5 separate regions of the Homo sapiens genome follow, and all the other regions are linked to region 1. The links are contacts of gene promoters, found by promoter capture Hi-C in blood cells and fetal thymus (Javierre and others, 2016). All regions are on one chromosome and are shown on one strand. The core of a region is centred on a gene start or on the middle of the fragment in contact, and the rest is flanking DNA. Distances in the headings are between cores, read along the strand shown.

Evidence for each region. Contacts are between HindIII fragments. The CHiCAGO score rates a contact against its expected background, and 5 or more counts as called.
Region 2: a contact is called between a fragment that was not itself captured here and the fragment with the promoter of AFG2B in region 1, in 14 of 17 cell types (total B cells, naive B cells, naive CD4 T cells and 11 more). The highest score is 11.6, in total B cells.
Region 3: a fragment that was not itself captured here is called in contact with the fragment with the promoter of AFG2B in region 1 in 13 of 17 cell types (monocytes, naive CD8 T cells, total B cells and 10 more); the score reaches 10.3 in monocytes.
Region 4: the fragment with the promoter of SLC28A2 here is called in contact with the fragment with the promoter of AFG2B in region 1 in 1 of 17 cell types (M2 macrophages); the score reaches 5.2 in M2 macrophages.
Region 5: a contact is called between a fragment that was not itself captured here and the fragment with the promoter of AFG2B in region 1, in 9 of 17 cell types (naive CD8 T cells, naive CD4 T cells, monocytes and 6 more). The highest score is 7.9, in naive CD8 T cells.

What each region holds. Positions count from the first base shown.
Region 1 is chr15:45,401,022-45,403,648 of GRCh38, forward strand. AFG2B (AAA ATPase AFG2B) reads left to right here and starts at 1,315. Exons shown (of 8, transcript NM_024063.3): 1 at 1,315-2,497. The coding sequence starts at 1,409. It also overlaps a transcript of GATM not described here. RefSeq lists enhancers at 768-817, 828-897, 1,288-1,447 and silencers at 1,528-1,607, 1,998-2,147. The HindIII fragment of the contact is 3,246 bases long and covers 1-2,627 here.
Region 2 is chr15:45,603,939-45,606,565 of GRCh38, forward strand. BLOC1S6 (biogenesis of lysosomal organelles complex 1 subunit 6) reads left to right here. Exons shown (of 5, transcript NM_012388.4): 4 at 1,490-1,576; 5 at 2,457-2,627. The coding sequence ends at 2,576. Among named protein-coding and RNA genes, the nearest start is that of BLOC1S6, 18 kb to the left of the region's middle. The HindIII fragment of the contact is 4,089 bases long and covers 1-2,627 here.
Region 3 is chr15:45,571,694-45,574,320 of GRCh38, forward strand. No RefSeq gene overlaps it. Among named protein-coding and RNA genes, the nearest start is that of BLOC1S6, 14 kb to the right of the region's middle. The HindIII fragment of the contact is 5,703 bases long and covers 1-2,627 here.
Region 4 is chr15:45,250,984-45,253,610 of GRCh38, forward strand. SLC28A2 (solute carrier family 28 member 2) reads left to right here and starts at 1,251. Exons shown (of 18, transcript NM_004212.4): 1 at 1,251-1,295; 2 at 2,217-2,313; 3 at 2,449-2,537. The coding sequence starts at 2,233. SLC28A2-AS1 (SLC28A2 antisense RNA 1) reads right to left here. Exons shown (of 5, transcript NR_120335.1): 5 at 598-1,089. The HindIII fragment of the contact is 6,298 bases long and covers 53-2,627 here.
Region 5 is chr15:45,269,815-45,272,441 of GRCh38, forward strand. It overlaps SLC28A2 (solute carrier family 28 member 2), which reads left to right. Exons shown (of 18, transcript NM_004212.4): 15 at 381-462; 16 at 2,481-2,579. All of the region lies in intron 1 of SLC28A2-AS1 (SLC28A2 antisense RNA 1), which reads right to left. Among named protein-coding and RNA genes, the nearest start is that of SLC28A2-AS1, 8.1 kb to the right of the region's middle. The HindIII fragment of the contact is 8,722 bases long and covers 1-2,627 here.

The DNA.
Region 1 (2,627 bases), core at 65-2,564:
AGAACTGAAGCCAATGGGATTAAGAGGAAAAAAGAAAACAGGAAGTAATGGGTGACTTATCCATTTCAAGACCTCCTCCTGCTATTTTCTGATTCCTAAATTGTTCCAGAATCGATTTAAGCAGACAAGTACAGCTGAGACCAGGTAAGTTACTGTCAAGTCAAGAAGTCTGTCATGTCTGCCATGAAGTTTGGACAGAATGAGATCAGGAACTGGCATGGGTCTTAAGATCCCAGATCTGACAGTACTTCCCATTGATAAGATATTACTACACAGTCTGTAATTGATTATTTGCATAGATAGAAAAAAAAAACTTCCCAGCAACTTAAGCACTCTAAAATATCAGTTTTGTCAACTCACAAATTTGGGTTGCAGTGAAAGTGGGGAAAATAGAGGTAGGAAGATGTAAGTCAAATAAAAACAAGGTATATCTTCTTGTCTTTGAGTATCTGTAGTTCTTTTTTAACGGCAATTAAGAGGGATAGAAAATGTATTCCAGCTGATAAAAAGGAATTCCCTGTGCGAAAGGGAAAGGCAGAAAGCAGCTGGAAAAAAAAAATAGCAGGCAGTTGTCTTAATAACGTAGATAGGTATCGCCTCTAATACAGGACTTAGTACTGTTGTGCCCCAATTAGACAGTAAGCATTGATCGCATGAACTTTAGTGATTAACTTGTTGCCAAAGAATATTCAAAAGAATATCAGAAATCAGAACAAATGTACTGTTGGTGTGCTACAAATCCATCAGGTAGCCTAGTTTTCCTTCTTTCCTCTCTACAAGGGATTTTAAGCGCTACCGTGTGCTTCCCTCCCACTATGCTGGTACTTTCCCATAGGAAGGGTTGTGCCTGGACCTCCCAGATTGGAACCCCGATTACCGAAGGTCCCAAGGCTGTATTCTCAGTTACGCCAAGTCACCTGAGACATTTGCACCAGAGCACCCAAAATTCTGTGCCCATGCGGATAGTTAGAGTTTCTTCACAAAATAGCAAAGTCTCTAGGTTGCTATTCCAACGGCGGTAGTACTGATGCTCCAGTTCGAAGGCCAGGAAAACAGAATGTAAAGCCGGTGACTTCCAAGATATATGTAACCACCAAAGTACATGCTTAATGACCTAGTGAAGTGAGCTTAAGCCGCCTCCCAGACACCTGTAACGAAGACCATCTCGGGAAAGCTCTGGGTTAGGCAACTCGATTTCACGAAAGCGGACACCAACGCTCTACCCAGAGGCCCGAGCGTCGTCTAACGTTTCCATTGGCCCTTTCGGCCTTCACTCAGCTGCTAGCAACGCAGTCTGCCCTAGCGCATGCGCGCAATCTGCTTCCGGCCTGCGAGCTCGGTGTTCCGCTTTTTGTGGGCCGGGTGGGTTTCCTAATCTGGTTTCGTCTGCCTGGTTCATCTGTGTGCGATGGCTCCGGACTCGGATCCCTTCCCTGAAGGGCCGCTCTTAAAGCTGCTACCCTTAGACGCTAGAGACCGGGGCACCCAGCGCTGCCGCCTGGGCCCGGCCGCCCTCCACGCCCTGGGCGCGCGCTTGGGCTCGGCAGTGAAGATCTCGCTACCCGACGGCGGCTCCTGCCTCTGCACTGCCTGGCCTCGGCGGGACGGAGCGGACGGCTTTGTGCAGCTGGACCCGCTGTGCGCGAGCCCCGGGGCGGCGGTCGGGGCGTCGAGATCCCGGAGGAGTCTCAGCCTGAATCGCCTCCTCCTAGTGCCCTGTCCGCCCCTGCGGCGCGTCGCCGTGTGGCCGGTGTTGCGAGAGCGGGCAGGCGCGCCCGGTGCCCGGAATACAGCCGCGGTGCTGGAGGCGGCACAGGAGCTGCTGAGAAACCGACCGATCTCCCTGGGCCACGTGGTGGTCGCTCCGCCAGGCGCTCCTGGCCTGGTGGCTGCCTTGCACATCGTCGGCGGGACGCCCAGTCCCGATCCCGCTGGGCTGGTCACCCCTCGTACCCGCGTCAGCCTTGGCGGGGAGCCTCCGTCGGAAGCCCAGCCGCAGCCCGAGGTGCCCCTGGGAGGTCTTTCGGAGGCGGCCGACTCGCTGCGGGAGCTCCTCCGCCTCCCGCTCCGCTACCCGCGCGCCCTGACCGCGCTGGGCTTAGCGGTGCCTCGCGGGGTGCTCCTGGCGGGGCCCCCCGGAGTGGGCAAGACCCAGCTGGTGCGGGCCGTGGCGCGCGAGGCGGGCGCGGAGCTGCTGGCAGTCAGCGCCCCGGCGCTGCAGGGTTCCCGGCCTGGGGAGACCGAGGAGAACGTGCGGCGGGTCTTCCAGCGCGCCCGGGAACTGGCCAGCCGCGGACCCAGCCTCCTCTTCCTGGACGAGATGGACGCCTTGTGTCCCCAGCGGGGCAGTCGAGCACCCGAGAGCCGCGTAGTGGCCCAGGTGTTGACGCTGCTGGACGGCGCCAGTGGGGACCGCGAGGTCGTGGTTGTGGGAGCCACTAACCGGCCGGACGCTCTAGACCCAGCGCTGCGTAGGCCCGGGAGATTTGACCGAGAGGTGAATGGGCTTGGCGGGTTTGCCCACTGTCGGTGGAACCTCGGCCGCTTCTGGCGCCATTTGGCTGCCCCGGAGGCGTTTGCCTCTTAGGTTTGAGCATCGGTGAGGTTGGAGTTGGGGCTCTTTGCAA
Region 2 (2,627 bases), core at 128-2,627, 200 kb after region 1:
GAACAGTTGAATTTCATCAGAAGTTCTATAGCTTTTTGATGAGAGGAAGTGATACTCTGTATTATAAGAAACAAGGAATTAACCAAAAAAAGGAACTTGTTTTGCTACCTTTATTTTCTGATGAACATTAAAAATAGTTTTGTTTGTGGGCAGGGCACAGTGACTTATGACTGTAATCCCAGCACTTTGGGAGGCTGAGGTAGGAGGATTACTTGAGGCGTGCAGTTTAAGACCAACCTGGCCAACGTAGCAAGACCCCATCTCTATTAAGAAAAAAAGAAGCTGGGTTTACATGACTGTAGCCATTCATGCATACCTCAAAAAAATGGACTTTTCTTTGGACAAAGATGGTTTACTAATGTTTTCCATTTGTAACAATTAAAAACAAAGTTCATATTCTCTGGCATTAGAGGCCTGTGGAAGTAAATACAGAGCCATCTGCCCAGTAGTTCCTGGTTTCTTGCGAGGGAGGTGGGCAAGGCTACACTGACCTATTTTTGTGTTCCCCACTGAAATCCTGTTGCAACAGAAGGAATATTTGTTGAATGAATGAATGTTGAATGAATTAACCAAGCAGATGTAATACTGTTGCTTTAGTCTGAAGGGGCAGGATGGAGTCTTCCTCTTTTTTCTTCTCTTAGTCAAGAGTAGTTTTTATTATCATCTGGGAACTGAAAACTGGAAGGCCCAGGATATGTAAAAAGGCACTGTAACTTCTGAGCTAATCAGACAATGACTTTACTTGCAGCTACATTAAGGCTGTGAATCTCTCTACTGACATTTCTTTCATTTCTTCTCTTTCTGTAACCTTGTCTGAAAATAGGGTGCTTTTCTCCTTCTCTCTGACATCTCTAGGCTTGCATCATCCTCCCATCTTCTCCTGACATAAGACTTCATTTTAGATTATGCAGGTTGGCTGAGTTGTAAAGTCTGTACTTAAGACTCCTCAAGAAGGAAAGTGTCCTCACAGAGATCATTCTGCTTAGTCTGACTAAAGCAGCCCAAGGAATGGATTAAACTTGTCCACAGTCCTTTCTGTCCAGGGCTCTGTGGCCACAGTTTGGGTTTTCCTTATGGGCAGACACTTCACTTAAACTGTTTCATGTGCTCTGGCTCAGTCTGTCTCTTGTAAAGGCAGAGAGAATGTTTTACTTTTCTTAAATGAAACTGATAGCATTATTAGATAGTCTTATCTGAAATTTTAGAATTATATGTTTTTAAAGCAAAATATTGTCTATGCCCATCTTAATATAAATGTCTATTTTATGTTTAGTAACACTTTTGTCAATCTGAACTAAATCAAATGTCTTTCAAATCCTACTAACAATATAAGGAAATCTTTATTTTGGAATTAAAATGTGAAGATAAGGCTGTAAAAATTTTGACCAATTTAGGAAGCACAAACTATCATTTATATATTGCCTTATTTATTCATTTTGATATTTTAGTCTATTTTAACTTGACTTTTCATTTATTTTTCCATGTTAAGTTTGCTGAGGCTAAACACTATCATGCCAAGTTGGTGAATATAAGAAAAGAGATGCTGATGCTTCATGAAAAAACATCAAAGTTAAAAGTGAGTTGAAAATTCTTTCACATTCTTTACAAAAGTAGAGGTTTAATTGTTTTTTGTTGTTTTTTTTTTTTTTCAGTATTCTTTTTTTTTTTGAGACGGAGTTTTGCTCTTGCCGCCCAGGCTGGAGTGCAATGGTGCAATCTCGGCTCACTGCAACCTCTGCCTCCGGGGTTGAAGCGATTCTTCTGCCTCAGCTCCCCAGGTAGCTGGGATTACAGGTGCCCGCCACCACACCCACCTAATTTTTGTATTTTTAGTAGAGACAGCGTTCTACCATGTTGGCCAGGCTGGTCTCAAACTCCTGACCTCAGGTGATACGCCTGCCTTGGCCTCCCAAAGTGCTGAGATTACAGGCGTGAGCCACTGTGCCCGGCCAGTATTCATATTTTGACTTTTATACCCTCATATACAATAGCATAATTCATTCATGGTACATTGTTTTCTTTTTAAAAATGTCATTGTTTAAGAAATATTAGAGACAGGGTCTCACTACGTTTCCGAGGCTGGTCTTAAACTCCTGAGCTCAAGCAGCCCTCTGGCCTCGACCTCCCTAAGTGCTGGGATTACAGACATGAGCCACTGCGTGCAGCCTTAAAAATATCATTTTTTTTTCAACTGCACTCTGAGCATTTTTACTAATAGCTGGGCTGATAGGCTTAGATTCTCTGGATATGCCCTACAGTTCTCATTTAATAAGAGTTTAGAGCAACAAATTTTTTTGAATCAAAGGGACCTTAAATTATCCCAAATTTAAATGTCCAAGATGAAGTTTATTAGTGTGAATGAATTACCTCAAAGCAGAGCACTGTTATTTTCAAATTAGGCTAAACCTGTAACCCCTGATTGCTCTCTTGGTTTTTAAATTTTTTTTTTAACACAGAAAAGAGCACTTAAACTGCAGCAGAAGAGGCAAAAAGAAGAGTTGGAAAGGGAGCAGCAACGAGAGAAGGAGTTTGAAAGAGAAAAGCAGTTAACTGCCAGACCAGCCAAAAGGATGTGAAAAGTTGTGTTTGTGTGTTTTCTTCTCCTGTCCCATATTTGGGTTATGATG
Region 3 (2,627 bases), core at 81-2,580, 170 kb after region 1:
ATCATCTCACCTTTTGGTCTGGAGAATCTTTGGAAATAATTCACATTTAGCAACTGAAACACTTTGAAGAGAACATTTTAAGTAAAAAAAGGACTATTTTGCATAGCTAATGCAAGTACTTATTTTAGCAATTTTAAATGAAGCATGATCTATCTCCTAGCTAATTTAAATAAATCTATCCTAAAAGGAAAGCTGAGTCCTGGAATAATATATGATGCCTATGGTCATTAAAATCACACTTTTTCCATAACATAGAGAATAAAGTAATAATGACTGATGGCTACTTTGATATCTACATGTAAGATTAACAAATGAATTTTGTGAAAACCCCAAAGTGGAAGAAGAATCGCTGTCTTTTGAATAATATTTAAAGTTATTTGAATGAATCATCATTTGTGACTAGTTTTACTAATAGTTCAAAAACACTGATACTATTTCAAATGATTAACACTCAATATTACGGATATTCATTTACTGTCAGATTTGATAATACTAAATAAAAAATAAAAAAGATTCCCCACCTGCCAATAGAAGCAGAACACTGGTATTGGTGATGTTCTCTATCCCTCACAGCTTGATCTTCTAATTTTGCAGGTTTGCAACTTCAGTTGCCAGCTTAACCAGTTGATATTAACCACTAAAAAACTGCCTATTGTATGAAGTTGATTTGTATAAAAGAAATGAATTTTAATAAAACATAGAATTGCCAAGCCCTCCGATATTCATTTAAGTCATTTAGTCCCTCTTATTTCAACAGAGAAGTCTACATAAGAAGCCAAATTAAGGTTGAATGGTTACTTAGGAAACCTAAAGTCTATTTAAGAGATCACATTAAGGTTAGTGAATATATGTATCCAAGGCACTAATAACAGAAATAATACTATTTCTTCTAGCCATAATAAATGCTCGTTTAGTGGGTGCTATTATTTACAATAGTGTCTTGCAGCAGTTTACAAATCCTGTTCATATAATGCGTGCTTGATTCTTACAAGAACTACACCGAGTAATGGGTCTGGTATTATCATTATCATGCCTCTTTTACTGATGAAAAAAACACAGGTTCAGAGAGTAAGTGACTTGACTAAAATCTCATAACTGATATAGTTGACATCTGTTGTTTTGGTTGGGCCAATTTCCTTCCTCTTTTTGGTAATAGGACTCTGATTTTTCCTTTAAGGAACTACCCAGTGCCTTTCTATAACTCCTAGCAGGTCTGTCAGTCAAGGGGCTCTGCCTCTGTCTGTTATGTGTGACCCACACTGACCCATCAGGGTCCACTATATTCCCCTAGATGCAGAGATTGGTATACGGGTGGGCATGTAATCCAAGTATTTGAGTGTTTTTTTTTTTTTTGAGATGGAGTCTTGCTCTGTTGCCCAGGCTGGAGTGCAGTGGTGCAATCTTGGCTCACTGCAACCTCTGCCTCCTGGGTTCAAGCAATTCTCCTACCTCAGCCTCCCGAGTAGCTGGGATTACAGGCATGCGTCACCACACCTGGCTAATTTTTGTATTTTTTGTAAAGACGGGGTTTCACCATGTTGGCCAGGCTGGTCTTGAACTCCTGACCTCAAGTGAGCCACCTGCTTCAGCCTCCCAAAGTGCTGGGATTACAAGTGTGAGCCACTGTGCCTGGCTTTGAGTTTTTTTTTTTTTTTTTTTAAGGGATTGAAATAAATGAATGCTAGGAGCGCACTGACTTCACTTGGGAGATGTAAGGATCATGAAACCCTGGAGCTATTTTCCTATCACATTGAGAGAGCTCCTAGAGTGAATGCTACATAGGAGAAAGCAGAGTGGAGAATCAAAGGGAGAGAGAGGGAGAGATTCCTATTTTGGCTGAGGAGAAGACATAGAAATCCTTGAAGCCAGAGCAGCCCCCGGACTTTCAAGCTCAGTTGATCAAAACTTCCTTTGTTTGTTTAGGAAGGTCTGGACTTCTCTACTTGCTAGTTGGTTAGACAAAAATCTAATACAGCTAATGATTATCTTAGCTGGGCTTGAAACAAATCTTTTGACTTTAGCCCTTTGCTATTTCTTTTCTTGGGATATTTGAGGTGCTGCTTTTCTGGCTGGAAACCTCTGTGGGTGGTGGTGCCTTTGCCCAAGTTCTTGTCCTATGTCCAGGAAGAGTGATGTATGCAGACAAGTGGAGGGTGAGCAAGACGAAGAAGAACTTTACTGAGGGTCAGAACAGCTCAGAGGAGACCCGCGGTGAGCAGGTCCTCTCTGTGGGCAGGTCGTCCCATCGAGTGTGCAGCTCTCAGCAGAGAGGAGGCCTGGAGTGGATGGCTCCTCTCTGCTGACAGGTCATCCCCAAAAATGTTCATCTCTCAGCGGAGATGGTAGTTCCTCTATGCAGCTGGCCATCCTGATGTCTGCCCTGCTCTGGCTGAGTCTGGGGTTTTTATGGTTTTCATTCAGAGTGGGGAAAGTATATGCTGATTGGTCCATGGGCAGCAATAGGTGGGCTCAGGAAAAAGCACCACAAGTTCCCCCTCTGGTGGGCAGGACTGGTAGGACCTTCCCTGGCCTGAAAGTGGAGCTTCACTGGGGACCCACCCCCTTCCTCCCAGGAGCCTGTCTGCCTCTCACGGCCATTCATTGGCACCCAGGATGTTTGTGCCAAG
Region 4 (2,627 bases), core at 1-2,500, 150 kb before region 1:
CAATCAGAGTGCAGGGAGGGGTCCTAAGTTTTATCCAGAGGGCGTCATAGGAAGCTTTCTTTCTTTCTTTCCAGGCCAGGATAAGTGTTACCAGCTCTGTAAAGTCTTTCTCTCCCTCTTTTTTTTTTTTTTTTTTTTTTTTGAGATGGAGTCTCGCTCACCCAGGCTGGAGTGCAGTGGCATGATCATGGCTCACTGCAACCTCTGCCTCCTGGGTTCAAATGATTCTCCTGCCTCAGCCTCCTGAGTAGCTGAGATTACAAGCCTGCACCACCATGCCCGGATAATTTTTGTATTTTTAGTAGAGATGGAGTTTCGCCATGTTGGCCAGGGTGGTCTCGAGCGCCTGACCTCAAATGATCCGCCTGCCTCTGCCTCCCAGTGTGCTGGGATTACAAGCGTGATTCACCGCGCTCGACCTGCAAAGCCTTTCTTGACACATCCGTCTTTCCTCACTGATCTGTTCGTTTTTTGATGGCAGAGACCTTGTCTCACTCATTTTTATGTCCTCACACGGAAAACGGTGGCTGGCTAATAGTGGTTACTCAATAAGTATTTGTTGAATGGATTAATAAAATAATTCCTAGCAGTCATTTGGCATGGAATCATGTACAGTCGTGCTGTTTATTGTTTTCTAGGGCATGTCTTTCCAGCACAAAATGATGGTAAATTTTCTGGGTGCAGAGACGGCTCTTACTGTATTTTACAGGCTACCCAGTGCCTAGTCCAGTGGTGGGTAATGCTTACAGGAATGTACCTGTTAGAAGTTCTTACAGAATTCTTTTGTTTTGTTTTGTTTTCTGACAGGGTCTCACTCTGTCGCCCAGGCTGGAGTGCAGTGGCGCAATCACAGCTCACTGCAACCTCCACCTCCAGAGGCTCAAGGGATCCTTCCACCTCCGCCTGCCGAGTAACTGGAACCACAGTCGTGTGCCACCGCGCCCAGCTAATTTTTGTATTTGTTGTAGAGATGTGGTTTCGCCATGTTATCCTGGCTGGTCTCAAGCGATCCGCCCGTCTCGGCCTCCCGAAGTGCTGGGATTACGGGCGGGCGCCACCTCTGCATAAGTCTTAGGCCTGCAAAACAGTCTTAAAAACATATAATATTTAACTTGAGAGGTGCAGTCCTCCTCTACATTGAGGGCAGGCTCAGCGAAGGAGGGCCCAAGACATAAAACTAACCAATGGCAGGAAAGCCCCCATGCCCCACCCAAGCTGCCCCTCCTCCCTCGCAGCTGAGCTTTTCTTTCAGTCCTTCACTGAGGAGCCAGAGGGAATCAATTCCACAAGCTGGGGTAAGTAAAGGTGTTTGGGGGAGGGCAGGTGCCTAATTTACAAATTTTTAAAGAGATCATATTTAAACTAAATGCAGGTAGTTTTGTGCCTAGTCAGGAAGGCCCTAATTTACACAATATAAGTTGGTTATGTGTGTTTAATGAAATTATACTTCAAATGCTTGAAGAGATCACATTTTCAAAAGCAATTCCATGGGGAAGGGAATTTTCTGCAAAGTAAATAAATATCTCAGAATGAACTTATATTCTAATTGTGAATGTCCATGTATTAAATTTGCTTATTCTGAGGCCCAAATGTTTGCTTATTTTGTTTAAAAACTTTACTTGGGATCATTAACATTCATACTAATTATTTTAAATGTAAGTTTTGTTAATTTCACTGATGAGTTCTCTCTGGGGCATAAAAAACCAATTCTTATGCTACATTATAGTCAGGAATTTGAAGGCCTGTAAATTGTTATCTGTTCAGCAATACTTTAGGGTCCGGGTCTTCCCAACTGCCTTCCTCCCTGTTTCCTTCTTACTCAGCAAGCTCAGTGGGGCCTCCCTGGGGCTAAAAGGAGTAGTTACCCTGTGACTCTTTCTTTGAGGGTCCAAGTAGGAACCTTTATAGCCCAGATCCTGGGGCCCTGGGCGGCCCACTGATTCATTTCAATTCCACTGCCTTTCATTTCTCTTCTCCTATCTTACTGCCTCTTCTTTAGCTATTCACAAGAGGAAATAGGATTTTATTTTTCATTATTTATTATATAAAAATTACACATCCAATCTTCTCAATTCTCAGTTCTTAAAGAAATCAACTAAGCCTTCAAAGACTTTTAGTTTTGCGTTTTCCATGGGTAACTGGTCCTAAAAATTCTCCCCATCCCCACAGAACAGAATGACCAATCTTTCAGGCTTGGCCCTGAATTTGTTTTTCAGTTGAGGAGAACAGGAGATGGAGAAAGCAAGTGGAAGACAGTCCATTGCTCTGTCCACAGTGGAGACTGGCACAGTGAACCCGGGGCTGGAGCTCATGGTAATCACCAGTTTAGTTTCTCTCTGCAGAGCTGTGGGCTGCTGCATGGGCTCCTGTAGGGTATTTGGCTGCTCTCAATCCCCATCATCCCTGGCAGGGCTCCATGACTGATCCCAATGCTCTCTGTGCTTGTAGGAAAAAGAAGTAGAGCCTGAGGGAAGCAAGAGGACTGACGCACAAGGACACAGCCTGGGGGATGGACTGGGCCCTTCCACTTACCAGAGGTACTGGTGTTTTGGAATCTTGTTCAGTTAGGAAAGGATCTAGGGTGGGCTGCCCCTTCAGGCAGCTTGTGGTATTATCACAACCGCTCC
Region 5 (2,627 bases), core at 128-2,627, 130 kb before region 1:
GGGCAGTCCAGGGCAGACACTATCTTTTGATGGTCTAAGGTCCCCTTCTTCACTTATAAGTTTAAATTGCTCCAAATTAATATTCTTTTTCTTTCCCTTTGCCTCTCTCCTCCTCCTTCGCAATCCTTCTCATTCCCAGGCCTTCTCGTTATTCATAGCCTTCAACAGGAACAGCGTTGGGCAATGAGGCCCATGGTGGTTTCCATGTCATTATCCCTATAGTAACTCAGGGAACAGTTGTTTTCTGAGCATCCTTTCATGTTCCTTGGGAAACCATGGAAAAGACTGGGGGCTGTCAGTACTCTGGAACTTCTATTGTGATTATAAGACCGCACGCATGGGACTGAATTTATTTGCTTATTTATTTTTGTTTTCCCTAGGTGAGAGCTGAAATCATTACAACATTTTCACTCTGTGGATTTGCCAATCTTAGTTCCATAGGAATCACACTTGGAGGCTTGAGTGAGTTCATCCATTTTCCCAGCTCCCCAGTAAGACAGCCAGATCCCAGCTTCTGTAGTGGGCAGTCCTGGTGCTTCAGTACAAGCTGGGATCAGATAGAGAAGCCATTGTGAAATGGGCCCATTTCTTAGGCTGCAGTTAACTTGGACCTAAGGCAGTCATGCCCACCTGGCTAATGCATACAGCCCTTTATAATCTCAACTTCAGTTACTTCTTTTTCCTTTGGATTGGAGGCCCCAAAAACTAATTTTATTTTAATTTTCTCTATGAGGAAGAAAATATAATGATATTATTTCAATTTTGCCATTAAATTGGAATAGTGCATATATAAATAAAGATATTTATTTATTTATTTATTTAATTTTTTTTGAAACAGAGTCTCACTCTGTTGCGCAGGCTGGAGTGCAGTGGTGTGATCTCAGCTCACTTAAACCTCCACCTCCTGGGTTTAAGTGATTCTCATGCCTCAGCCTCCCGAGCTGGGATTACAAGTGTGTGCCACTATGCCCATTATTATTATTATTATTTTTTTTGTATTTTTAGAAGAGACGGGGTTTCACCATGTTGGCCAAGCTGGTCTTGAATTCCTGGCCTCAAGTGATCTGCTGCCTTGGCCTCCCAAAATGTTGGGATAACAGGCGTGAGCCACCACACCTGGTCTTGTATTTTATTCAGTAGTGAAGACACTTTTTGAAATTAGGCTGCTCACTAGTCATCCTCATGGAAACACAAAGAATTAAAACAAATAAAAGCAGCAGGCACATAAGGCAGATAGACAGTAAGAGAGAGTGGTGTAAAGTGTTGGATTTAAATATGCAAGTACCAAATGTTAAAGGAGTGGGTCTTTGAAGCAGACACAGATATATTTAGACTGTTGGAGATACTGCTGCATGGGGGTGATTGTTGGAGGAATAATATGAGGAAAGTGGAATTGTCCTTGAGTGCAGGGGCACAGGGGTGACTAGCAGATCCCAAGTTTGGAAGATCCAAGTTAGAAATGGATCTTAGGCTGGATGTGGTGGCTCATGCCTGTAATCCCAACACTTTGGGCCAAGGCAGGAAGATTGCTTGCTATAGGAGTTTGAGAGCAGCCTGGGGCAACATGGTGAGATTCTGTCTCTACGAAGAATTTGAAAGTTAGCTGGGCATATTTGCACATATGCCTGTAGTCCTATCTACTCGGGAGGCTGAGGTGGGAGGATTGCTTGAACTCAGATCGAGCCTCCAGTAAGCTGTGATTGCACCACTGCACTCCGGCATGGGTGACATGGGGAGGTCCTGTAGAAAGAAAAAAAGAAGAAAAGGAAGGAAGGAAGGAAGGAAGGAAGGAAGGAAGGAAGGAATCTTAGAAGGAGTAGATTATAATAAGAAATATAGCTCAGTGTGTCCCTTTTTAAAGGCAATTATATTCTGGGGTAGAGTCATTTAATTCATGTACTTGGTAGCCAATTTAATTGAAAGGTGAAATAATTCCCTTTCAGTTTACCTTTTCCCCTTCTGTCAAACACCTGACTGTATTGTTCTAGTCTTGATGCCTGATTACTGTCCGATTATGAGACTGCCATCTAGTAGTGGGATATGCATTGTGTGGCTAAGTCTTAGGCCACACAATGAGTGTTGCTTTCCTTAGCCCTCTGTCTCAAAATAGTCCATCTAATTCTGGTCCAGGCTTAAGAGTGCGTATCTCAAGCAGTGAACGCCAGGCATTTGTACCTGTCTGGAGAAACCCAGAGCCTTGCTTTATCCAGATACATCTTGGGTATGTTCACAGAACCATTAAAGTGAGGGTCAGACACTCAATACTTGATCTGAGGAAAGTCTAAGTTAGTGATCCCTCAGGACTAATGTATACACACACTTCTTAGGGCAACACTGGCCAGTCTCAGGTGGATGGTAATAAGGATGCTCTTCATCGGCTGTGTTTTGTTTCTCTGCGTTCTTCTAAGTGGGGGCCCATGGGATATACCTGATTGCCTTGGTGGGGAAAAGCTGAAGTTATTTTATTTTATTGTCTGCAGCATCAATAGTACCTCACCGGAAGAGTGACTTGTCCAAGGTTGTGGTCAGGGCCCTCTTCACAGGGGCCTGTGTATCCCTTATCAGTGCCTGTATGGCAGGTAGGTGCCTCAGCTCTGATGGAGATACTGCTGCATGAGGGTGATGGT